4 separate regions of the Homo sapiens genome follow, and all the other regions are linked to region 2. Evidence: promoter capture Hi-C in 16 types of primary human blood cells and fetal thymus (Javierre and others, 2016). All regions are on one chromosome and are shown on one strand. The core of a region is centred on a gene start or on the middle of the fragment in contact, and the rest is flanking DNA. Distances in the headings are between cores, read along the strand shown. Region 1 overlaps CCSER1 (coiled-coil serine rich protein 1). Region 2 holds the start of GRID2 (glutamate ionotropic receptor delta type subunit 2). Region 3 overlaps CCSER1 (coiled-coil serine rich protein 1). Region 4 overlaps CCSER1 (coiled-coil serine rich protein 1).

Region 1 (5,956 bases), core at 2,398-4,897, 1.9 Mb after region 2:
AGGCCCAAAACCACCAACCCACAAACAGCAGACTGTCTACTTTAACATCACTTTCCTATTTTATTGTCTTTTTGGTGTACCCTAACAATTCCAAAACATTTTACACCACTGACTGTCCCCAAAGACCCACCAATTTTTCAATAAAAAGCATCAACAGAGAGTTCAACCCCTAAGAGTCATTAAATTCTTCATGTTAAAATCCTCCCCTCACTGTTTCCGCCAATCCTACAACTCTAAACTTTTTATATGCTTTTTATGTTTTTCCCCATATTCTTTCCCCAGGTTCTTGCAAAAGACTACATAGATATAAGGATAAAAAAATCATTATTTTTATCCAATTCAAACAAACCCTTCAATTGAAACATCTGCCTTAAACCACATTCATACTCTCAGTAAATCCTATCTTGTACTTTCCTCTACAGAAAACTACCAGAATTCAGTCAAGGTAGCGTTTTTCCCTTACCTCAGTAAACAATAAACTGAACACTGTCTTATCAAAAGGTTGAAGAGCCAGCATTTAACACTATTATGGCTTCAATCAGATCTACTATCATTCTACTATCCAGACAAGGCTTAGCCTACTTTAGGTTATGCTAGCACGTTATGATGTAAGGGTACAGAAAATGTGGTCTTGATAAGAGTAAGAGTTTCCCAATTCCATCATAAGCTTTTAGAAAATGTGATTAATAAGATAGAGTATCAGAAAATAAATAAAAGAGATAAGATGCTATCATATGACCTGATGAATAGAAAGTCTATAATTGTTTTTAGTATGCACAATTGCAACCTAATTTGTTGTAATTGTGTGAATCTTCATTATTATTTCTCTTTTCTGCCTCAGGCACGATAGGAAATTATGTTTCATGTCAGTGGTTATTTTTCTTGTTGGTGAACAACTTTAAATACATAAATATTCTATTCCTTTAGAAGAAAGACCAGCGTTTGCTTTCTTAATTACTTGTTCATTTTGATAGTGACAGCTGATGTTCCTGGCATTATTCAAGCAATTGTATGGAGATGTCACCACATAATTGTAAGAGGCCATGAAATTTTATATTGAGACACATATTTTCTTTTCTAATTGCACCAGAAAAACCATGCCGAATGAAATACATCTTTTCTTTTGACTGTATCCTCTAATGAACTTGGGCCATTGACTGCCCTTTTGTGCAGCAGAAGAGAGTTTATGTCAGTAGGAAATGCTACAATAGCAGGTTACAAGTAAATACTATGACTTCATTAAAATTGTTGTTATTTAATACTAAATTAGGTCAGGATGTATAAACATTTTTCAGCTACTGTTGATTGGATTTAGAAAACTGTTCCATCTAAAAGCCTTCTTTGTCACTGAAGCAATCCTCTTAAAAATATAGCAAAGTCTGAAAGGCAAAATAGATAGGCAGAAGCACTTTTAAATCAGGAAATGCAAATGATTTAGTCTGTTGGCAACTACCATAAAAATCAAATAATTGCCATCTTACTACATGGAGCTAGTCAATTTCTTACTTAAGAGTCATCTCTTTATTACAAGCAAACTATGTGACCCTGAACAAAACATTTAAAACTATTAATATTCATAGGAGAAGAAGTAGGAGGAGCTTCTACTTCTAAAATTCTCTCCCAGTTAGAACATTATTCTGTCACTTAAGTACATCATTTAACACAGAGTATGAAAAGAGTGCACCCAGGTGAATGTTACTATTTTAATTAATAAGTTCAATATTTTTTAATGGGAGTGTAAAAGAATGTATCAAACTAATGAATTAATCAATTGGTCAATTTGTAAATTGGTCGAGCAAAAACAGCTAATAAAAAATATTAAATTTTGAAATATCTACACTAAAAATGTATTATCGATAATTATATAGTCTTGTGTTTAAGGAATATCATGGTCCCCATACTCAATTAGTAGACTATAAATTACTGCTTTTTCAAGTACGACAATTAGGAAAGCCTTTCGCACAGCTATCCTTATATCTAAGTAGTCTTTTGCAAGAACCTGGGGAAAGAATATGGGGAAAAACATAAAAAACATATAAAAAGTTTAAGGTATATTCACATTTTTGCCATGGGGAATCATTATAAAATGACACTTCCTGGATAGTTAAAGCATATGAAGAACTGAGGGTTTATTTTCATTCAATAAATTAAAGAATAAATAAGAGTTTAGATATATTTCCAAAGTGAATTATACAGCTCTCCATCTCAGAATAATGCAGAATGTATTTTTTCTTGATGATTAAGAACTACAATAATAGTTTTTAAAAAGTAATGGTGTGCCACATTGTAATACAGCAATACTTCATTCCCTGCTGCTTCTCTCTCCTCTTCTCTCTCCTCTTCTAAGATGTTATTATGATTTTCAGTGCCTTGGAAAACATATAACCAAGTATATTAGAACTGTACATAAAATTAGAAGCATCAAGGTCTAGAAAAACAGTTAAAAGAAACTGCCATTTAATGTTAAGATCTAGGTTAATACTGGCTGAATAAGTTCTTTAACCAGAGTATTTGCTCCCTCCACTGTACTTGATGTATATTAACATCTATTTCAGAGTGTTACTGTGATAATTTGATGAGATAACATATTTGAAATAGCTTGTAAACTATAAAGCTGAATACAAATGTATGACAGGATTACTATCATCGTTAGAAGAACAAGATTGCCATCTAATGGCAACCAAGCAGATAACAGGTATTGTATCCCTTTTGAAGTAGAAATACAGAGTAATAGGATCTGCTGATGAAACACACAAAGTGACAACTGAGATCACAATTTCATCCTCACTAAAGTGTTATCAAAATTGTAGTGTAATAGAAAATTTGGAAACGCTATTATAACTGCTCCTTCTAGTAACTAAACATCATTGAGAGCTTTTATAGTGGAAACAGTAAGTGGGTATCAAAGCCACATAGGCATAATTGAAACCCAAGAATAGCTCTGTAATCATGCACAAATAACAGTGCTCTTCTGGGTTTCTCTTCCTTCATCTATGAAGAGAGAATGATAACACTTTCTGAGAATTGCTGTGAGGATTAAATTAGATAATCCAAAATGCTTAGAAATTATAGCTTAAAACTAAAGCAAAACCTGAAACAACAAAGTGCCCAGGCCAGTGGTCAGCACAATGTATATGCTTCAATAAATAAACATAGTTAATTCCAACTTCTTAGGTGAAGTCAAAGACAAATATATATTAAGTGATGCCCATAACTTAAAAAGCTATTAGAACAGAAGGTCAGTTTAAAACAAATGCTTCAGTGAACATGTGATTTTAACATTTTACATGAATTAATTTTATTAGTCAACAGAATCAAAATGGCTAATTACAGAGCCTCAGAGTCAGAAATACCATGTTTGAGTCTAGCTGGGATATTTATTCCTATAATGCTTTATCACTCAAAGCTCCAACTTTCTCAAATGAGAAAGTGATGTTATTTACCTCATAAATTGGCACCTAGACTCAATAAATATTATTTATTATCCCATTATTTTATTTAGTGCTATAATTTTATAAGCTTAGAAATAAATGATAAAAATTAGTTGCATGTGCTGTGGCATTCTATACTTAAAATTTGAGAAATTCTATATTTAAAAATGTTAAGATTTTCCACTAATAGAGACTGGAAAGATCACTAAATCTGTCAGAATCAGATGCTGATTGGCCTACATACAGGTATATCACATTTTACATGCATATTTTTAAAATGGTATTAGCAGTAGTTCTTAAAAATATATATGCTGGACATGAGATTGCATATTCTACAAAGCTTTAACTTATTGTTTCTCCATCAAATTTATGAGGTAGATACATCATCGCGCCCATTTTCAGATGAAGAAGAAAAGCTGCAAAAGATTAAATAACTTGCTCAAGTTTACATAGCCTGGCTGGTGGTTGAGATTTGTCTAATTCCAGAGCCAGCATCCATATTTTTAACCATTATGTTATACTTCAAAAATTAAGTGCTGTATGTTTCTTAGTTTTATATAATCAGATTAAAAATACTTTAGACACACTTTTTCTGACCAAGACACATCAGAGCTTGTAGAAATTTATAGTTGATTTCTATAATTTTCCCTGTGTGAATGTTGTTGCAATTCTCTGTACATTACCATTCGTATTAGGAAAACCACTAGGGTTTCATCTCTGCTCTGCTGTACTATTATTCATTAAAAATTAATAACAAAAATTATCTCCCTAATTAATAGGCACAGGAGGAGTTCCTAACTCACTGCAGAATTTTTATATTGCTTGTTCATCAAACTCAAAATAATTTAGCAACTACGCAATTAATTCCTCATTGATATCATTGGGCCATTACTTCCCCATTTTCCTTTGGATATATACCAAGAGACACTGCCCTAGGTGTTTTCAGATCTAATATACTAAATAAATAACCAAAACAACATAAAATATCTTCATTCTATCATCCAAATGACCATTACATTCTTTTTATCCAAAAACATTAAATAAGTAAGATATATTTTTAATTTAATTTAAAAACTCTTCTGCAAATTGTAAATATCAACCTTAATACAAAGTAACAGCCATAATTTCTCTTTGAGTATTAATGATTAATGGTTAATATTAATGGTTAATAATTTTTAAGGTATTTAAAATAGAAATTTATTCTTTTTCAAATAAATTTCTATTTTAAATATGCTATGGCAATTTGGACATTTGACTAACAACCAGAAAAAAAGTTCATGCATTTAAATGCATTGGTTTTTTTAAATTTTTTTTATATTTATTATACTTTAAGTTCAGGGATACATGTGCAGAAGGTGCAGGTTTGTTACATAGGCACACATGTGCCATGGTGGTTTGCTGCACCTATCAACCCGTCATCTAGGTTTTAAGCCCTGAATGCATTAGGTATTTGTCCTAATTCTCTCCCTCCTCTTGCCCCCAACCCACTGACAGGCCCTGGTGTGTGATGTTCCCCTGCGTGTGTCCACGTGTTCTCATTGTTCAGCTCCCACTTATAAGTGAGAACATGTGGTGTTTGGTTTTCTGTTCCTGTGTTAAGTTTGCTAAGAATAATGGTTTTCAGCTTCATCCATGTCCCTGCAAAGAACATGAACTCATTCTTTTTTATGGTAAATGCACTGGTTTTAACACAAAGAAATATACCACCTATTATAAGCAAAGTGTCCTATTTGATTTTTGAATATTTAGTACTAGTAAATTATCACTTAAAATGTTACATAAAATTTAGATAATAACATTTAAATCAGAAAGCACATTTTAAAATAATTTATAATAATGATAAAACATTAAGAAACTAGGGTCTACAAAAAATAACCAATAATGGGACAACGTCTTTAACAAGGAATTAAAACTGTCTAAAATTTCAAGAATGGTAACCAACTTGTACTGGGCTCTTACCCTATTTTGGGCAACTGAGAATAGAACTTTGCATGTCACTCATTTAGATAGGATTATATTTTGAGACAGACATAATTATTGTCATTTTACAAATGAGGAAACTGAGCTCAGAAATATCATTTGTTGAAAGCAACTGTGGGCAGAGCTGGAATTCTAACTTGGATATGCCTATCTTTAAAATGCCTGCTCTCTTTTGATATTAATTTGTAGTTTCTTTATTTTGAATGAATCATTAAGGTGCAATTTTCTCTCAGAGTTATTGTGAGGATTAAGTTGAGAGGGTTTACAAAAAGAGACTGGCTCATTATAGGCATTCAATTTTCCTTTCCATCAACCTATTTTTAACTTTATGAATTTTAAAATATTTAATTGATAAATAAGATTGAATATAGTCAAGGTAAAAAAAAGGTAATGATTTGATATACGTACATATTGTGCAGTGATAGCCACAAATTAATTAACACATCCCTCACCATTCATGCTGTATATTAGATCCTCAGAATGTGCTCATCTTACAACTGAAAGTTTGTATCTTTTGATCATCTCTCCATTTCCCTACCCTGAAG
Region 2 (5,477 bases), core at 296-2,795:
TGCTAAGCAGACCTCGGGAGCAGCCTGCGCGCATTCGCTTCCCCGCGTTTCCCAAGCGCCCCGGGGTCAGTTTCGCCGCCGCGCCAGGCCCCGGGAGCGTGTCCGAGGAGGCGAGGCACGCGACAATCAGTCCTTGGCGACACTGCCGCCAGCCCCTCCTGCCACCGTCTCAAAGACTACACGCAAGGATCATAAAGCCAAGAAGATGTGAGAAGAGAGGGTGGCTGGGGGCGCATCCGGCACCCCCGTCACCATCGCACTAAGCTGCGGCGAACTCAGCCGGCTCACGTTGCAAAACCACCTGTTCGATCCGAAGGGAGCTCCCCCTACCCCCCAGCCCAGTTCTTTTCATCTCACAGGTGACAGCTTCTCTGCTCCCCCAAAGATAAATTTTTAAATGGAGCAAATGTACATCCGGGAAAAAAAATATGGAAGATAAGAGTCAATTAAACTCCCTTTCCCCACACACTTAGAATCCCCCTGCAGTTCCCAGCACACACTCACACTCAGGTCAACTCGAGACCCCCACGCATCCAGCCACATTCCACGAATCACTGCAAAACAACAGCACAAGTCAGTCGAGGTTCGAGCATCCACATCCTTTCAGAAAACTGAGCAAGTGTGAGGGAAGGGTAGCGGGAAGGGGCAATGAACTGAAGCCACCTCCAACAAGACACACAGAGACCGGAGAGGGGGAAAGCGAAGGGGAAACATTTGAGAACTGAAACGGTAAAAGTAACCACGAGCTGCACCAACACTTTCTTACCGATGTGAATGATCGAATCCGCATTCGCCGAGTCCCAGGTTCGAGACCACCAGACGGACAAAACCAAGAGAAAGGGGAAAACTTCCATCTCCTCCTATGCCGATTCTCTTGGAGGATGGATTTTCTTCCAATTTTTTTTTTTTCAAACAGTCCAAAGAGTTTGAGGTCACGGTGGAGTTTAGCGCAGCTTTTTCTTTTTTTCTAAATTCCTATTGCCAGAGCAAAGCCTTTTATCGTCGCCGAGAAAGGCAGAAGGGAATGACAGAAAGAGCCCAGCCTGAGGAAACCTCCTTCGCAAAGCCGTGTCACTTGGAGGGGAATTTTGGCATCGCCAGAGTTGTTTGCAGTTTGGCTTTTGAAAAATATATCCAGCCTCTACTGCTCTTGGGCAGGGGGAGAGGCTGGGGCTCAGATCAGACCCATCGCTGCGCGGGGGCCGCGGGTCTCCGGTCCCAGCTCCGCTGCAACTTCCAACACCCCCCTCACGCCGGATGTGCCCCCTTCCCCGCACCCTCTCGGACCAAAAAAGACCCCCGCCCCCGCCCCTACAGCCCGCAGAGAATCACTGGTCTTCGCTGCCAGAATCTAAGTGGAAAGGAAAGATTAGGAGATTCCAAACGGAGCAGCCAGATTCCACCAGGGAGGGGGGAAAAAAGCCCTCTCCAAGAGGGGTAGAAAAAGTGAACTTCAAGGTAATGCAGATAGTAATGCAGAGAAAATTCCCTTTCTGCGTGAGGCGCGGAACGCAGCTTGGCGAGGCGGGCCCGGGGAGCCGGTTTGCTGGGGCGCGGTGGCGGGGGGGTTGCGCCGGGCGCGAGCAGCGGGGCCGGGCCAGAGGAGGGAAGCCGCCGCAGGCTGCAGGATGCTTTTGGAGCGTTTCGCCTGGCGGGATGCAGGAAGCAAGGAGCGAGCCTGGCAGCTTCAGCACCAGCCCCACGTTGCCTAGAAATGGATCACCTAGGAGAAGGAGCGAGCCTGCGAGAGAGCGGTGCTGTCAGGCGGAGAGAGGGGGAAACCAAGAGAGGAAGAGCTTCTCTCTAATAACCACCTCCTCCCCCTATCTGCAATACAAGGGAGAAACAAAATAGTGCTCTCATTTCCCATGGAATCTTCAACCGGGACTGAGAAAAAGGCAGGACTGTAAAAAGACATTGAAGCTTTTTTTTTCCTTTCTTTATTTTACGAGGTTAAATGCAACCTAAAAAAGCCACCCCACTTATTTAACCTTGCTATTCTCTAACAGGTATCAGACTTTTTCTAGTCTTTGCCTGGAATTAGTCACATTGGTTGAAAACAAATTAGGGACACCTGGTCACTTAGGGAAATACAGACCTAGAAAGCTTTTAATGAGATTTCAATTATAAAGTTATAAAAAGGAGAGAACGTGCTAATTACCTTTTATACAATGATTTTTTTTTTCTGTCTCCAGTGTATTTTTTAGGCAATCAGGATAGAGAAAGGTTCCTGAAATCCTTTCTATTGATAGAAATTCTTCTCTATCAGGATAGAAAAGATCTTGAAATTAAAATAAAAAAGCAGAATAATTAAATAAAACAGAAAAATTTTTCATAAACATTTGGTCAAAATATTTCATTGAGTAGCTTAATAACCTATGTAGATAAATTCCGAATGAGGAAGTTGGGTACTCTCTTCCATGGAAAAAGCTGAGGAAGTCCTGAATGACAGCCTCTCAGTCTCCAGTGAAAGGATTTTCTGCAAGCTTATTCCTTAAGATAAAATCCTGATCATTGTGACTTCTTTTCTTATAATGATTGACTTATGTCAATCTGGCCTCATTGCAAACTGAAGATTTGTTAACACAATCGAGTGACTAGTCGAGGTCAGGTATTAATGTCATAATATTGTCTCAGTTATAATTGGAATTCTTTAGGAATGTTGGATGTGTGGATGTCAAGCTCATTACACAACCTTTCAAAGCCTTACCTCCAAGTTTGGCAAACCTCTTTTCCTCCCGTTCCCTCACTTGAGCCCTTCTCTCTAGCCTTCTGAATTGGGTTACTATTTTTCCAGACACAGTTGTACATTCTCACTTCTGGCTGTTTTCATTCATCTTGTACACTTTTTCCTGAACATTCCAGAAAATGTTTTGCTGCCATATTTTTACTTATGTTAATATTTCTGCTTGGAAAGCACGTATTTGTCCTCCCAACCACTCTCCTTCACCATCTCAAGGGCTAGTTCAAATTCCTTTTGCCCATGAAGTAGTGTCCAGTCCTTTAATGTGGAATAAATCCATCTATCTTCTATGCTGTCGTAACACACCCTATTTTGTATTAGAGTTAGACAGAACTACTACTAAGTTAGATCATAAATGCCTTGAGAGTGAAAACCAAAGCTCATTCACATTTTATTCAACACAGCATTTTACAGAGAACCCCTTTGTTGACTTGAATTTCATCACTTCCTTCTGAATCTGGAACAAACCAGTGCTTCCAAGAAGCATTCACTGATTAATTACTCTCAATTTTGATCATTCTCTTATCTTTTGTTTCCATTAGTAGACATTGACTCAATATTGATTATATTAATGTTGGTGTTAATGTCATTTTACTTTATAAAGTGTTTTGATGCAATTCCATAGATTATACTTTGCTTATTCAGATAATGAATTGAAAGAAGAGATGCACTCCCCATAGCTTCCTTCAAATATTATTTACAGTGACATTCTAAAAATTGGTAAGTCATTATGTATTCTATCAAGAAAAATTATAACCATTTAACATGGAAAGAACACCATGATATCTTAGAATAAGATAACTAGGAAGAACTTCAGAGCATTAACTAGTCCAGTCCTGGCTAATGAGTATCTGTCCTGGAGAAAGTCAAATATTGTATAGTCATATTCATACTATTTCCCCTCTTGGAAATGTTTTAGTGTACTGTGAGCAAAGCATTTTCATTATTCCCAAATCCTCCAGTTTAGTAGTTTTCAAATGTAGATTCACTTTGAAATAATCTGAGAAGCTTTTTAAAATGGTCACTTAAGGCTAATTTAATCAGAATCTCTGGAGTTTGGGACACAGCCTGTAATATATTCTAAAAGCCTCTATACAGGGCTCTGCTATGCAGCCATAGTTCAGAATCACTGTTCTAATACTCAGACATTTAAATGAGTCTGGGTGACACATCAAAAAAAGCCCTTAAGGTATAATGACCACTCCTGCCAATCAGAAGAAACAGTAGAACAACAAGTTTTGGCTTTCCAAAAGTTACACAAGAAAGTTAGTATAAATTTAACATTGGCTGTTTGATTTTTCAAGAATAACAATCAGTCTTTTTACTGTTGAAATAATTTCTACATTCAATGATTCCTAATTAATAAATATATAATAAATATATATTAACTATATTTTCTACTACTTTAGAAAATTGTCTGTCATAATGTAATATGTAGTTAGCTGGATACAAATATTTATAATGTGTGAGTTAGATGTTAAATTCCAGAAGAAAAAATATGAATTCACTAGCTGTGCATATTAAATGTTTTAATGACAGCTATCTGTTGGTCTCATTAAGGCTGCTTAACTTTAATTCAAGCCTTATTATATGGAAATAAGTGATGTACCTGGCCCACTGTACTTAAATTCAAACCTTGTGAAATTCTGGCATGTATTGGCAGGAAAATACCCTCATTAACTAAAGTTTTATAACAAATGATTAACTATTTAAAATAAAATGTAAGTAAATCATGTTTGTTGAGTTTATTCTTCCAAGGTGGAGACTGTTACTTCATTCAGGCATCGATCATGATTTGAACATCAATTATTTGAAGAAATGATAGATTATCTGAACTACCCCAAGATTTAAACTAATATGCCTATTTTTCTTTGAAAAGCAGAATTTTTGAGAAAAACTGATTTGCATTGGAGGGGAAACTACAAATGCTGACTGCTTCAATCATGCACAATTGTGGAAAGAAAGCAAGGTAATAGAATAGAAATTCTTGGAACATATAATTATTTCATTTTCACTGTTAAAACTGCTAAGAATACCAATGCTTAAATTTTAAAAATCAGCTGCTCATTGTTATAACAGCAGTAAATCAACTTACATTGGTCAATTTTAACGAACTGTTCAATTATATTTTAATGACTCATGAGTTTTATTTTGTTTTAGTATAAAGATCTATGAATTTATGAGTCAACTTATTTGAAACTTAAAAGAGTTGGTTTTTAAAATAATATCATCAAAATGGGACACAATAAATTCTGATCATTATTTCTAATTATTTATGATTATATTATTCATATTACAAATATGGCTAGTCACACAAAAGATTCCAAGTACATTTCAACCTTAATATGAGCATGAAAGGAAAACTGTTAAAAGGCAAAGACTGATCATCTATAGATGCAAGTAGTTGTGATAAATGGCTGTAAAATTGTAATTGGGATATTTATTTGCAGATGTGAAAAACATAAATTCCCTTTGGTTGAGGGACTGAAAGAGTAACTTTTGTACTCAGCACATCAAAGAAGTTCAGAGCTCATTGAGGCTTCAGGGGCTTTCTCATTCAGTGTCTTGGTTTTCTAGACAATGATGGGAAAATTGAGTTCCAGAAGTTGTACTAATATTTGTTGGAAGGCTTAAACTTAGAAAGCACATGTTTTGACTTTTAAATAAGCTTTGAAAAAATACTTAAATTACATATTCCTGTATAACATATTTACGCTGGCCTTATCTTGACCTC
Region 3 (6,078 bases), core at 2,793-5,292, 1.8 Mb after region 2:
AAAATCAGAAAATACAGCCACAGTACAGATGGGTGTGAGAGAAGAGCCATCAAAAGAAGAAAGCAAAGACCTTCAAATTATTAGGAGACAATTTAGTTTACAATTTAAATTTAAAAGTATTCTATACAACCATATTATTTAAGGCTAATATCATCTTGAGATATTTGTTAAGATGTGAAGGAATTGCGTAAAACTGTCAATATCCTGAAGTAAAAACTTCTTAAAATATGAAAAACAGATGAAAATAACTATACCCTGGAAACTCAGACAAAACTATAAAGTGAAAATGAAAATATTAAATTTGGTCAGGCTTACCTCATATCACCCAAATTCTGGTAACTTTGTCGCTGTGTGCCAATAGTAACCTTTCATTTTATGACAGATGGTTGGAATATATCAGGTCTATTATAATTGAAATTGCATATTTTTGACCCATTTAATCTCAGTTTTTTTCTTGCCTTAGTTTTTTTTTTTTTTTTTTTTTGAGACGGAGTTTCGCTCTGTCGCCCAGGCTGGAGTGCAGTGGCGCGATCTCGACTCACTGCAAGCTCCGCCTCCCGGGTTCACGCCATTCTCCTGCCTCAGCCTCCTGTGTAGCTGGGACTACAGGCACGCGCCACCATGCCCGGCTAATTTTTGTATTTTTAGTAGAGACGGGGTTTCACCGTGTTAGCCAGGATGGTCTCGATCTCCTGACCTCGTGATCCGCCCGTCTTGGCCTCCCAAAGTGCTGGGATTACAGGCGTGAGCCACCGCGCCCGGCCGCCTTAGTTTTTGAATAGTTCTTTTCACAAATATTTCGTTGTGAAATTTTTTTCTACAATAAAATTGAAAGCTCACAAGTGATAGAGAAAAATAGCAAAAGTTATGAACTCCATTTGTAAGCTTACCTATCTTATTATTAAAACTCAAAACACTTTAGTATGTTTGGGGCTGGCAAAAAAGTGTCCTTCACTTCAAATATAAGCTGATATAGCCAATGGTGTTCTTGAATGTCAAACATGAAATAAGCATTTATAAAGTCCCTACTAATTGTAAAGTAAAACAAATTATGAATAAAGTGTCATTTATTTTAATAAATAGAAAATTAAGTTAAAATATTGTCATTATGGTGGGCGCTAATCCAGTACGACTGGTGCCCTTTTAAGAAGAAGAGATTACAACACAGGCAGACATAGTGGAAAAAACATCGAAGACACAGAAAGAAGCCATCTAGAAACCATCAGGAGAAGATGTCTAGAGACACAGAAAGAAGCCATCAGGAGAAATCAACTCTACGGACACACTGAATTTGAACTTCTAGCCTCCAGAACTGTGAGATAATAAATGTTTGTTGTTTAAGCCACCAAGACAATAATACCTTTTGTTATGCCAGCCCTAGCAAACTAATTTAAAGAGCATTTTAGGGGGACAGAATTACTTTTACTAATATTAATAATTAAATAAAAAGATCTCAGAGTTCTACTCCAAACTCCCACCTAATGGCTGAATCTACATTGCTACTACTCCTATCCTCTCCCATTCCAAATATCTCTGACAGATGTCCAGTTCATACTTCAATAATTCTAATGCTGGAAAATACGTTACCTTGTCATTATGGTTCCCTCCTTCCCAATGTGACATAAGCTTTTAGTGTATTTAAAACTAGATCGTGTATAGTTGTAAGAATTTGCCTGTGTTTATATCTGTATCTATATATACGTACACACATACACTATCTATATATGTAGATACACATACATACACATGTATGCATATATAACATATATAATATATACTATAAACACATACATATGCATACAATAGATAGCATTAGAAAGAACAGAGTCACAAACAATTATTATTGCTGATAAATTAGCTATTAAAAACTTTATCGGCATTTTCTCCATTGCACAGCCACCAGTTAGAGCAGAAGATGCTACCTAGGTTAAGTGGTTTTCAAGCTTCCATCAAAAGCGATGTGTAAGAACTTTAGCACCACTGGAGGTCTGTGAAGTCCTTCATCACTGACAAAAATTCCACACATAATATTAGAATGGCATCATCATCTGTAGTCTGCTCCTTCTAAGTAGTTCACATAGAAGGTTTATGACTTGTTGTTCATTAAAGATTTCATTTTAATATTGGCAGGACCATTAAAACTTATTGTGGCAAGGCCAGGCATGGTGGCTCACGCCTTTAATCCCAGCAATATGGGGAGCTGAGGTGGGTGGATCACCTGAGGTCAGGAGTTCGAGACCAGCCTGGCCAAAAGGGTGAAACCCTGTCTCTACTCAAAATAAAAAAAAATTAGCCAGGCATGGTGGCACATGTCTGTAGTCCCAATTGCTCAGGAACTGAGGCAGGAGAATTGCTTCAATGCAGGAAGTGGAGGTTGCAGTGAGCCAAGATGGTGCCACTGTACCCCAGCCTGGGCAACAGAGCAAGATTCCATCTCAAAAAAAAAAAACTTATTGTGGCAGACTCTATTTTCTAAAGATGGCAGCAGTGGTCCATGTGGAGTGGTGGCTGTGAAGATGCTGGTTGCAGTGTGGGAGGTGTAGCTGGGGCGGTGCACTCCATGGAGCAGGTGGAAGGAGGAACAGGTGGAGGCCCTGCCCCCTTACAAGTTGGAGGGGCTCTCCTAAGAGCCGCAGCAAACCAGCTGCGGCTATGGACTCAGGAATTCCTGAGCTCTTGAGGGCCCAGGAATTCCCCTGATCTCAGCAGGCTCCTGCTGCCTGAAATTTCCCTGATTCTGGTGCCCTCTCCAATTTTGGAGCACAGTTGTGACAAAGCCTGGGCACGGCCATGACCCTGCTGGGTATGCACATGCTCAGGGTGGCACCGACACACCAGAACCCTGCTGTCTCGAGCCCCTCTGGACATTGGGTGCTGATAAGCATGGGAGGGACGGCAAAGAGAAGGTTGGCATGGGTCTGCAGGCTGTGGATGGCAGGTTGATGATGGCAGAAAGCAGATAGGCTCCTGGGTGGAAAGAGGTGGGTCCCTGGTGAAGACTCACCTTTATGCTAGGGATGGCCTGAAGCCTGGGTGCCAGGCTGCCAGTTGCTTGGAGCAGAGTGAAAATTATGGTGCCTTTTCCGGGCCCAGCCATGGCCGCCCATGGAACAATCAGCACACACTTCCTCCTCTTTGAAGCCCATAAAAGCCTGGACTCAGCCAGATTTGTAGAGACATTAGGACAACCTGCCTGTGGGGAGGAGCTACCCACTGTGGGTCTTCTCTCAGCTGAGAGCTGAACAGACATCTGGATGATCTGCCTGTTGAAAGAAGCTACCCACTTCAGGTCTCTGGAGAGCTGTACTGTAGCTCAATAAAACACCTCTTTGCCTTGCTCACCTTGCAGTTGCCCACGCACCTCATTCTTCCTGGAAACAAGACAAGTACTTGGGACCTGCTGAATGGCACAAACAGGGCTGAAACATGCCCCCCTAGTCAGCATGTTGTGAGCACGAGAAGAGGAGAAGAAAAAAGAGAGAAAAGAGGAGAGAAAAGTTGAGGCTCTTTGGGGAGTTCAGCTCTAAGAGTTCCCTGAGCCAGGGCTCTTACACGCTATTTGGCGTTCTGCAGTTCCTGGGATCTCCAAGCTGCTGGGTGACAAAGTGTTCCCTGGTGCCTGCAGTGGAAGCCACTTGCGGTACACCTGGTCCAGCCATAGCCTCGCAGGGAACCAGCACCTGTGCCAGCACCTGGAGCAGCCCGCCAGCCCCAGCCAGTGTGCCTTGTTGTACACAGTGGCCGGACCCTGGGATCGCTCGCTTACACACTCCTCACCGCTTCATGCCTGGCTCACCATTGGCAGGCATCGGATCTGAGCCAGTAGTACAAGCCGAGTGCAGACTGCCAGGCCAAGTGAGCAAATCAAGTCCAGTGGTCCTGAGCAAAACTTGGGCAAAGGCACCACCAGCCACAGAGATTTCTAGCTGGCAAAGCAACACCCTGAGGATCCTATGACATTTTGGGGGGCTCATCCAGGATCTGCAAAAGGGTGAGTAAAAGCAAACTTGCTGCTTTCTGTCCTTTTTTGGGGAATCCCTAAACTCCACTACAACCAAACTGAAAGAAAAATGCCATGCCTCTCTTGGCCAGTTGAAAGTGACTAGCATAGCTGCTGGACTTAAGACATGAGGACAGGCTTGCTGGGGAGGACACTGCCAATCCCCCATCACCCTTGGGTGTTGGGAATGTTGGCTTTGTTCCAATCCAGTTTCCCTTCATGGAGGTCTAGCCATCGTGTGGGATCAGAAGGAGGTCCTGGGGCAAATGAGGGTATCTGGCTGAGGCTATATCTCAGTGTTATCCAAAGGCCTCTGAACTAACTCCAGTCCCCGACTGCCTGTTAGGGTGTCAGCACTAGGACCTCCAGTCTTTCCTATCATTCTTTCTTTCTTTCAAGGTTGTCGTGGCTCCTATCTCTTCTTTATATACAATGATAAGGGTGTTGTTGCAAAGTACAGAGATAATAATACCGGGTAGAATAAGCACTTGGCTTGGTCATCAGAAGTGTAAATCAGAACAATGTGATGTCTATCTATTCTTAGAAGCAAGAAGGATGTAACAATTGAGAGTTTTCTTTCCCCTGTTGAAGGAACCCATTTGCACAGGGCAAAAGGTTTTTTCCCCAGGCACCTTCCCCACCCCTGAACTTAAATCATTCTTTTGGGAAGCATCTTGTTAGGCCAGGTCCCCAATTCCCAGGACTCCCTTTCTTTCCCTTGTTTGCAGAGGACCTGGTCCCACAGCTTCACCTATTCATAATAAGGAAGCAAGAGATGGGCTGCCCCACCAGTTTCTGGCTGCAATTTGGTGAGGCCACTAATTTAATGGGTCCATACACCCTCCTGAGGCATTTTTTTGTCCCAAGTTTAGTTTTGAGGCCCTAGAAAGAAAAACTAGATGTGAGAGATCCAAAGGCACATGACAGTGAAGTTTAGGGGGCACGGCGCAGGTGAGCATGACTAACTCCTGCCAACTAGGCCCTCCTGCATCGTGGATGGAGGTCATCCTCCTACCCATGGCATAGATAAGGTCTAGGGAATTTAAAGGTTACCAAAAGCAGGAGGATTAGGCACCATATAGGTGGGTGTGAATACTCCTGTTGGGTATGCCTCCCCACCTCATGGGTGAAGTCACACTTGCACACATGGTCAACACCTGCAAAGATCACGGGGATTTAGGGATATAAGGTCAGAAGAAAGAAAGGGATGCCCTTTTTTCTTAGCCTCACCTACCCTGGGTATTTGCTGGAAAGAGAAAGGAACAAAGGGATGCTTTTTACCCCTCTTTCCTGATGGGTAACCAACCATCTTCAACCTGCACTCCTCTTGACTGCATCCTGAATCACTGAGACCCCTTTGACCCTCAGACTCTGGAGAGAAGAAAAATCACCTTTTCCTCCTCTGTTCTCTCTTCCAGAAGGGTAAACAACCATCTTTAACCTATACTCCTCTAGAGTGTATCTTGAATTCCTGGGACTCCTTAATACTCAGACTCTGGAGAAAATCTGCCTTATATTCCTTTGCACTAAGGTGTGGCTGAATTATGTTCTGCAGGCAGAAGCATGGCCTCAGAAATGAAGTATTAATTTTAATACCATTCTGAAGCTGGAACTTTTCTGTAGACATGAGAGCAAATGGTTTGAAGTCCCACATGTGCAGACTTTCTTTGCCTTGCAGGGAAGTTCGGACCTTTGCCAACATTGTAGGATTGATTCTGCCCTCCTGGTGGCAATTTCAGAAAAGGCTGCAAGGGGCAATCCCAGGGAAATAGAGAAGCAAACCCCAGAGGTACCTCCATTGGGGGAATCATCTCCTTCCACTTCCCTTATCCAGGTTCTCTCTAAGTTTGTTCCATCCTAGAAATCTTAGTTTTAGGCACTTTTGCCCCTACAACAGGCTGGCAAATATAGTCTCATTAAGGTCCAAATTTGCTTTTCTCTACGGAACTTAAGGCAGATTAAGAGAGATCTTGGCAAGTTTTCAAATGACCCTGACATTTGCATATAGAGGCTTTCCAGAATTTAACCCAAGTATTTTAACTCTCCTGGAAGAACATTATGTTACTTTTGAATCAGAT
Region 4 (6,081 bases), core at 2,008-4,507, 1.9 Mb after region 2:
TCCTTTTATCTTTTTCCCCTCAAAAATATATGCAATACTACTAATTTCACTGATTGCAATATCAATTAAAAATCTGCCATAGGCTGTCAACATCTCATATATTTTGTCCTGAGTTTAGGCCTTCAAAGTTCCATACTGATGGTGTTTCTTAAAAATAGCTATCATTAGGTTCTTTATCACACCATGAAATACTGCTGTAAAATGTTCAGTCATTGTATGGATTAATGAAAAAAAAATAGGTTAGTTTATAATTTTTTGTTTCATATTTTCAAAATTTTATTTTGACCTATAAGATTCTCTTTTATGTTTTTCTTTTCAGTGTGAGCTCCACATTTAAGAACTTCCCATTTTCAGGCATTAACTGCCTTTTACTTTGTTTAATATCTACATCATCACACTAACTGTCTTCTTTACAGCAATCAATCTGGTAGGCACAAAACATTAATATTCCCCAACTTGTGAATTAGGGCTGAGTACATAGTAATAAAAATGCAATTTAAAGTAGAACTGACTACATATTTTTAAATATCAAACTACTTTAATGCTTTTTATTATATAAACTCTATACAATGTTTAAGCAGATTTTTGATAAATATATATTTGGCTTTACATTTTATTCCATAGCTTATATTTTCACCAATGAATAAGTTGAATATCATATTTTTAATTGCAATTTTCTTCTAACTTCTAAAATCAGAACACCATCAATTTTAGTGATTCCGAACCTTTCATTTTCATTTGGCAATTCATAAAATCTCCACATTTTTCTATTTAAAGACACTGAACTTAATCCTTGGAATAAAGAGGATTCAGTTAGTGGGAAAAATGTGAGTAGAGGGAGACAGATGGTTTCCTGAACTTGGGGGAGAGAGACAGACAATTTGAAAAGGCTCAAGTATTCTACTCCCCACACCCCTTTATGGTCAGTCCCTGGGAATGTATTTTATTGTCTATTTCAGGGTAAAAATGTAGGTGTTACCCAAAGATTATTTTTAGCTTGAATATAAAGCTCTCTCCTCCCACTATGTTTCAAGAGAAGAAGAAAGACTTGGTAAACCCAATTTACTAAAGCAAAATCATTTCCTACTTTTTTTTCTTGCTCTTGCTTTCCAACAATAAAGCAAACTTTCACATAAAAAAATGCTCATTTTCAAAAGCTAAAAAGGCAAAGTTGTTCCCAAACATTTTTTATGGGATACCACAAAAGCATAAATATTCACTTTACATTACAGAATATAATCCCATCTTTTTGCAGAATGAACATGTATCTATAGGAAAATTTTTCCACACTCTACCTGGCAACATCAGACCACTACAGAAAGGCTCTGCTCTAATAATGAGTGGGAAAATGAAATGGATACAATTACTGAAAAATAAAATTATAAGATACGTTAAGTTTAAAACTGTAGGTCATATTTTAATAAAATAATGTCACAGTTTTCTGTTTCACTTGACAATTTTCTTTAGCTTCTTTGGAAGGTACATGCTGTTATTAAATAATCTTAAGATTTTTTTTTTCTTTCTGCCCTTGAAAGTCTTTATTTGCCAAATCATGGTAGGCAGCCAAGTTGCATTTGGATAAGTAGTCTTTTTAGAATAAAACTCTCAAACACATGAGTGCACTTAAAGTCAGGAAATATAAAACAAAGAGAACCCCCCAACAGATCTGGTGTACTTTAGGTGCCACAGTGATATTCATTCACCAATTTATGTGGCAACTATTATATGTCAAAAAGTCTATGATTTTCTCTTCAGGATTAGCAATGCAAAAATGAAAGAAAAACAAATTTAACAGAAAAATTAAATATATTCTTGGTGTCAGTGTGCGTACTATTTATTTTAAGAAGGCAACAAAATCAAATGACTACAAAATACTATGACAAGTGCTTGATAAGCAATTGACAAGGAGAGAAGCAATCTAGAATTTGTAGAAAATTAGAAAACAGGAACCACAGCTATTTCGACTCTATGTTCCTTTGTTCATATTTGTCTCAGCTTTGCCATATTTTACTGTATAATCTTAGGTAAGCTTTCTATAATGTAAAAGAGGGATAACAGAATTATTGTGTGGATTAATGACTTAATACTGATAAGCTCATGTCAGTACAACATTAAATGTTTAATAAATAAATATCCCAGATCCATATTCACTCTAAATAATAATATAAATTTACTCAATTTGCAATTATCCAAGAGCAAATCTGTAAGTCTACAGATTGACAAAATAAATGTACTCACACAACTTAGAAAGGCATCCCTTGTATGAAACTATTGATATTATACTGTTAACTGCAAAGGAGGAAGCCTGGTTCATTGTAATCAGAATGTAGCCCATGGAATGATACCTTTCTGCTTTACCAGAAACTCCTGGCAAATCAAAGAAGAGTAGACTGAGGATCAAAAACACAGAGGGACGTCTGTGGCTATGGTAGCCTCTCTGCAGAATCAGGGCAAGAAAAGTGGAGAAGCCAGCGGAAAAGGAAAGAAATATTCAGGCAGCATGTGGGTAGGACTCTTTTCTAACTAATTTGGTCCCATTCTAATATTCCAATATTCTCCTTTTCTGAAGAAATGAGATTTTGAATAAGAGCTAGAAATCAATATGTGATCATTCTCAATTACACCTAGCCTTTGGTTTTTCTAAAGGAAAGAATTTATGTATTGATTAATGCTTCTAAACCATTTGACTAGCATCATTTTTACATTTGTGGTGATATATGAAAAACACTAAATGTTTTCTTAAATTCTGGATGTAATTTTAACTGTATAAGTTTATATTAAATACCTTCAGCATGTCATTTTGGCATTCTGAATTGTTTTTCACCAAAACTTTCTCTATTGCCCTACACCCTATCAAGAACTGTAAAGGTTGTGAGATTTTACCATGCATGACAGTATTATCGTCCAAAATTTAAATTTCATGAAATAATTTCATGCATGTTGACATAAGACACAAGATCCCTGTGTGAGAGTCAAAGAACTTTACTACTCATGGCAACAATAATAACCAGAGTGTCAGTATTTGCTTGGGTTCTCTGAGCCCTAATTTTCATTAAGGTAACACAAGAGAAGAATCCTGAGCTTGAGACTCAGAATCTTTTAACGTAGAAAGTAAGCCTGCCTGACTTTTGCACTAGAAGGACACATTATTATAGTGGAGAGTGAACAACCTGCTTTTTGCTCAAGAAAGAAACTGTATATATCTTCTAAACAGACATTCCTATATAAACTTGCCTGGAAAGGTAGTTTGAAGTTGAAGATAGTCAGTGCCTCTGCTTACAAGACTTGCAGAAACACAAGAGACTCACAGAGAACTGTCTCCCATTATCCCTTGGCTCCACCATAATATTGGTTAATTGTTCATTCTAAACCAAATACCACATGTTATCACTTAAAAATGGCAGCAAAACATTGGGTACATGTGGACATAAAGACTGCAACAATGGGCACTGGGGACTGCTAGACGAGAGGCAAAGGAGGGCAAGGGCTGAAAAACTACCTATTGGGTACTGTGCTCACTACCTGGGTGATAGGCTCAATTGCACCCTAAACTTCAGTGTCACATAATATATGCATATAACAAACTTTCACAAATACCCCCGAACCCAAAATAAAACTTAAAATTTTTTAAAAAGAGTGTTTTCTAAGTCAATTTTGAGGCATAGGCCTTCTTGTCCAATTTGGACATAATCTAAAATTCCCAGAGAAATAGTCAAAAAGGACAAATAGAAGAAAGTAAGTTGTAATTTTATTTTAGTTAGATATTGTAAAACAAATGGAAATAGAGAGGGAGAGGTGGAGCAGAAGCAACATGGAGAGCAGTAGGATTTGTACCACTCACAATAGTTGCTAATAATTATTGAGAACCTGCTATTTGCTGAAACCTGAGGTAAATTAATAATTAACTTTTTAGCTACTATCATAAACTATTTCTCTACTACTATAGAAACCATCGTATATGTTTAAAGAGTGCCTATCATTGGGAATGAAAAAATATAGATTGTCATTTCTTAGGAAAACAACATTTGATTCATTTTGAGAAAATTAGACTCAAAGTATGTTTAGATAATGTCACCTACAGGTCCTTTAAAGCCTTTACCTAGACAGAATGAACTATGGATGTACCATTGTAAATTATGTAAATTAATATCATAAAAATCATTCAATTTTATTTATCTTTATTATGGTCTCAGAGTAAATGAAAATACTATGACAAAAGTTGTGCACTATAAAATAAACTAAAGTTGAGTACTGCTTGAAATGTCTAATTTATATCAGAAGGTATACAATCTTTTCTTTGAAAATATGGTGATCTTTAACCGTATGGTAATTCATATGCATTATGTTGGCCATGAAGCATTATATTGACCATGATCAGCTAGGCCAATGGATGTTGACAGAAATACATCCATGAACAACTCTTTTCTGCAGAATGGACTCTTAAACCTCACCAGACAAAGACCATAAAAGAACGACGAAGCTTCTACGTTTCCAAGCTCCCTTGGACGCATCCCATGTGGAAGCTTTTTTTTTTTTTTTTTTTTTTTGAGACGGAGTCTCGCTCTGTCGTCCAGGCTGGACGGAGTGCAGTGGCGTGATCTCGGCTCACTGCAAGCTCTGCCTCCCGGGTTCACACCATTCTCCTGCCTCAGCCTCCCGAGCAGTCTCCCCATTCTCCTGCCTCAGCCTCCCGAGCAGCCTCCCGAGTAGCTGGGACTACAGGCACCCACCACCACACCCGGCTAATTTTTTTTTTATTTTTAGTAGACACGGGGTTTCACCGTGTTAGCCAGGATGGTATCAATCTCCTGACCTCGTGATCCGCCCGCCTCGGCCTCCCAAAGGGCTGAGATTACAGGCGTGAGCCACCACGTCTGGCCGTGGATGTTTTTTTATTATAAGAATATTGTGGCCGGGCGCGGTGGCTCACGCCTGTAATCCCAGCACTTTCGGAGGCTGAGGCGGGCGGATCACGAGGTCAGGAGTTCGAGACCAGCCTGGCCAACATAGTGAAAACCTGTCTCTACTAAAAATACAAAAAATTAGCCAGGCGTGATGGCGGGCACCTGTAACCCTTGCTGCTCGAGAGGCTGAGGCAGGGAATCGCTTTAACCTGGGAGGCAGAGGTTGTAGCAAGCCGAGATCTTGCTCCCACACACCAGCCAGGGCAACAGTGTGAGACTCCGTCTCAAAAAAAAAAAAAATTATATACATATATATATATATATACACACACACATATATATACACACATATATATACACATATATATACACACATATATATACACATATATATACACATATCTATATATAAAGTTTTTACAAGTTATCTACCATAAAACCATAGATAAGACTGATTTATTTATTTTATTTATTTTTATTTTTTTTGAGATGGAGTCTTGCTCTGTTGCCCAGGCTGGAGTGCAGTGGTGACATGTCGGCTCACTGCAACCTCCACCTCCTGGTTTTAAGCAATTCTCTGCCTTAGCCTCCCAAGTAGCTGGGATTACAGGTGCCCACCATCACGCCCGGCTAATTTTTGTATTTTCAGTAGAGATGGGGCTTCACCATCCTTGCCAGGCTGGTCTTGAACTCCTGACCTCATGATCCACCCACCTCAGCCTCCCAAACTGCTGGGATTACAGGCATGAGGCACCGCGCCCTGCCCAGAGGACTGATTTTATGTACTCTAAAAGCCATGCTCCAGAGGTTATATGCTCAGTATGTAAACTACTAGTTTTGGCAAATAAATAAATGAAAGAGGTATACTCTACTGAATTTAAAAATGGTTTCCAAAAGTACACAGTTATAACTCATTTTTATATTAGCTTACAATTTTGAAAGCATTCTCATATACTATTTTTATTTAAATTGCTATATTAACATTACTCCCCTTTTTGAGTACTGTGGACTAACAATAGTCTCTCTGGATGGTCTTTTCTTTCTGTTGTTCCTATTCAAAACTTATTGCTCAGGCTCAACTAGACTATCACCCCTTCTGTTAATCTCTTTCAGCAACATTTAGGCCTGTCATATCTTCTCTCTGAATTCGTAACACATCGTGCCTTATGATGTTCAT

Evidence for each region. Contacts are between HindIII fragments. The CHiCAGO score rates a contact against its expected background, and 5 or more counts as called.
Region 1: a contact is called between a fragment that was not itself captured here and the fragment with the promoter of GRID2 in region 2, in 3 of 17 cell types (M0 macrophages, M2 macrophages and M1 macrophages). The highest score is 6.5, in M0 macrophages.
Region 3: a contact is called between a fragment that was not itself captured here and the fragment with the promoter of GRID2 in region 2, in 1 of 17 cell types (M2 macrophages). The highest score is 5.7, in M2 macrophages.
Region 4: a fragment that was not itself captured here is called in contact with the fragment with the promoter of GRID2 in region 2 in 1 of 17 cell types (M2 macrophages); the score reaches 5.3 in M2 macrophages.

What each region holds. Positions count from the first base shown.
Region 1 is chr4:90,416,011-90,421,966 of GRCh38, reverse strand. The region is part of intron 4 of CCSER1 (coiled-coil serine rich protein 1); the gene reads right to left. Among named protein-coding and RNA genes, the nearest start is that of CCSER1, 290 kb to the right of the region's middle. The HindIII fragment of the contact is 252 bases long and covers 3,522-3,773 here.
Region 2 is chr4:92,300,034-92,305,510 of GRCh38, reverse strand. GRID2 (glutamate ionotropic receptor delta type subunit 2) reads right to left here and starts at 1,545. Exons shown (of 16, transcript NM_001510.4): 1 at 767-1,545. The coding sequence starts at 854. RefSeq lists a silencer at 1-13. The HindIII fragment of the contact is 7,809 bases long and covers 1-1,925 here.
Region 3 is chr4:90,454,731-90,460,808 of GRCh38, reverse strand. All of the region lies in intron 4 of CCSER1 (coiled-coil serine rich protein 1), which reads right to left. Among named protein-coding and RNA genes, the nearest start is that of CCSER1, 330 kb to the right of the region's middle. The HindIII fragment of the contact is 4,193 bases long and covers 1,946-6,078 here.
Region 4 is chr4:90,359,046-90,365,126 of GRCh38, reverse strand. The region is part of intron 3 of CCSER1 (coiled-coil serine rich protein 1); the gene reads right to left. Among named protein-coding and RNA genes, the nearest start is that of CCSER1, 230 kb to the right of the region's middle. The HindIII fragment of the contact is 2,451 bases long and covers 2,032-4,482 here.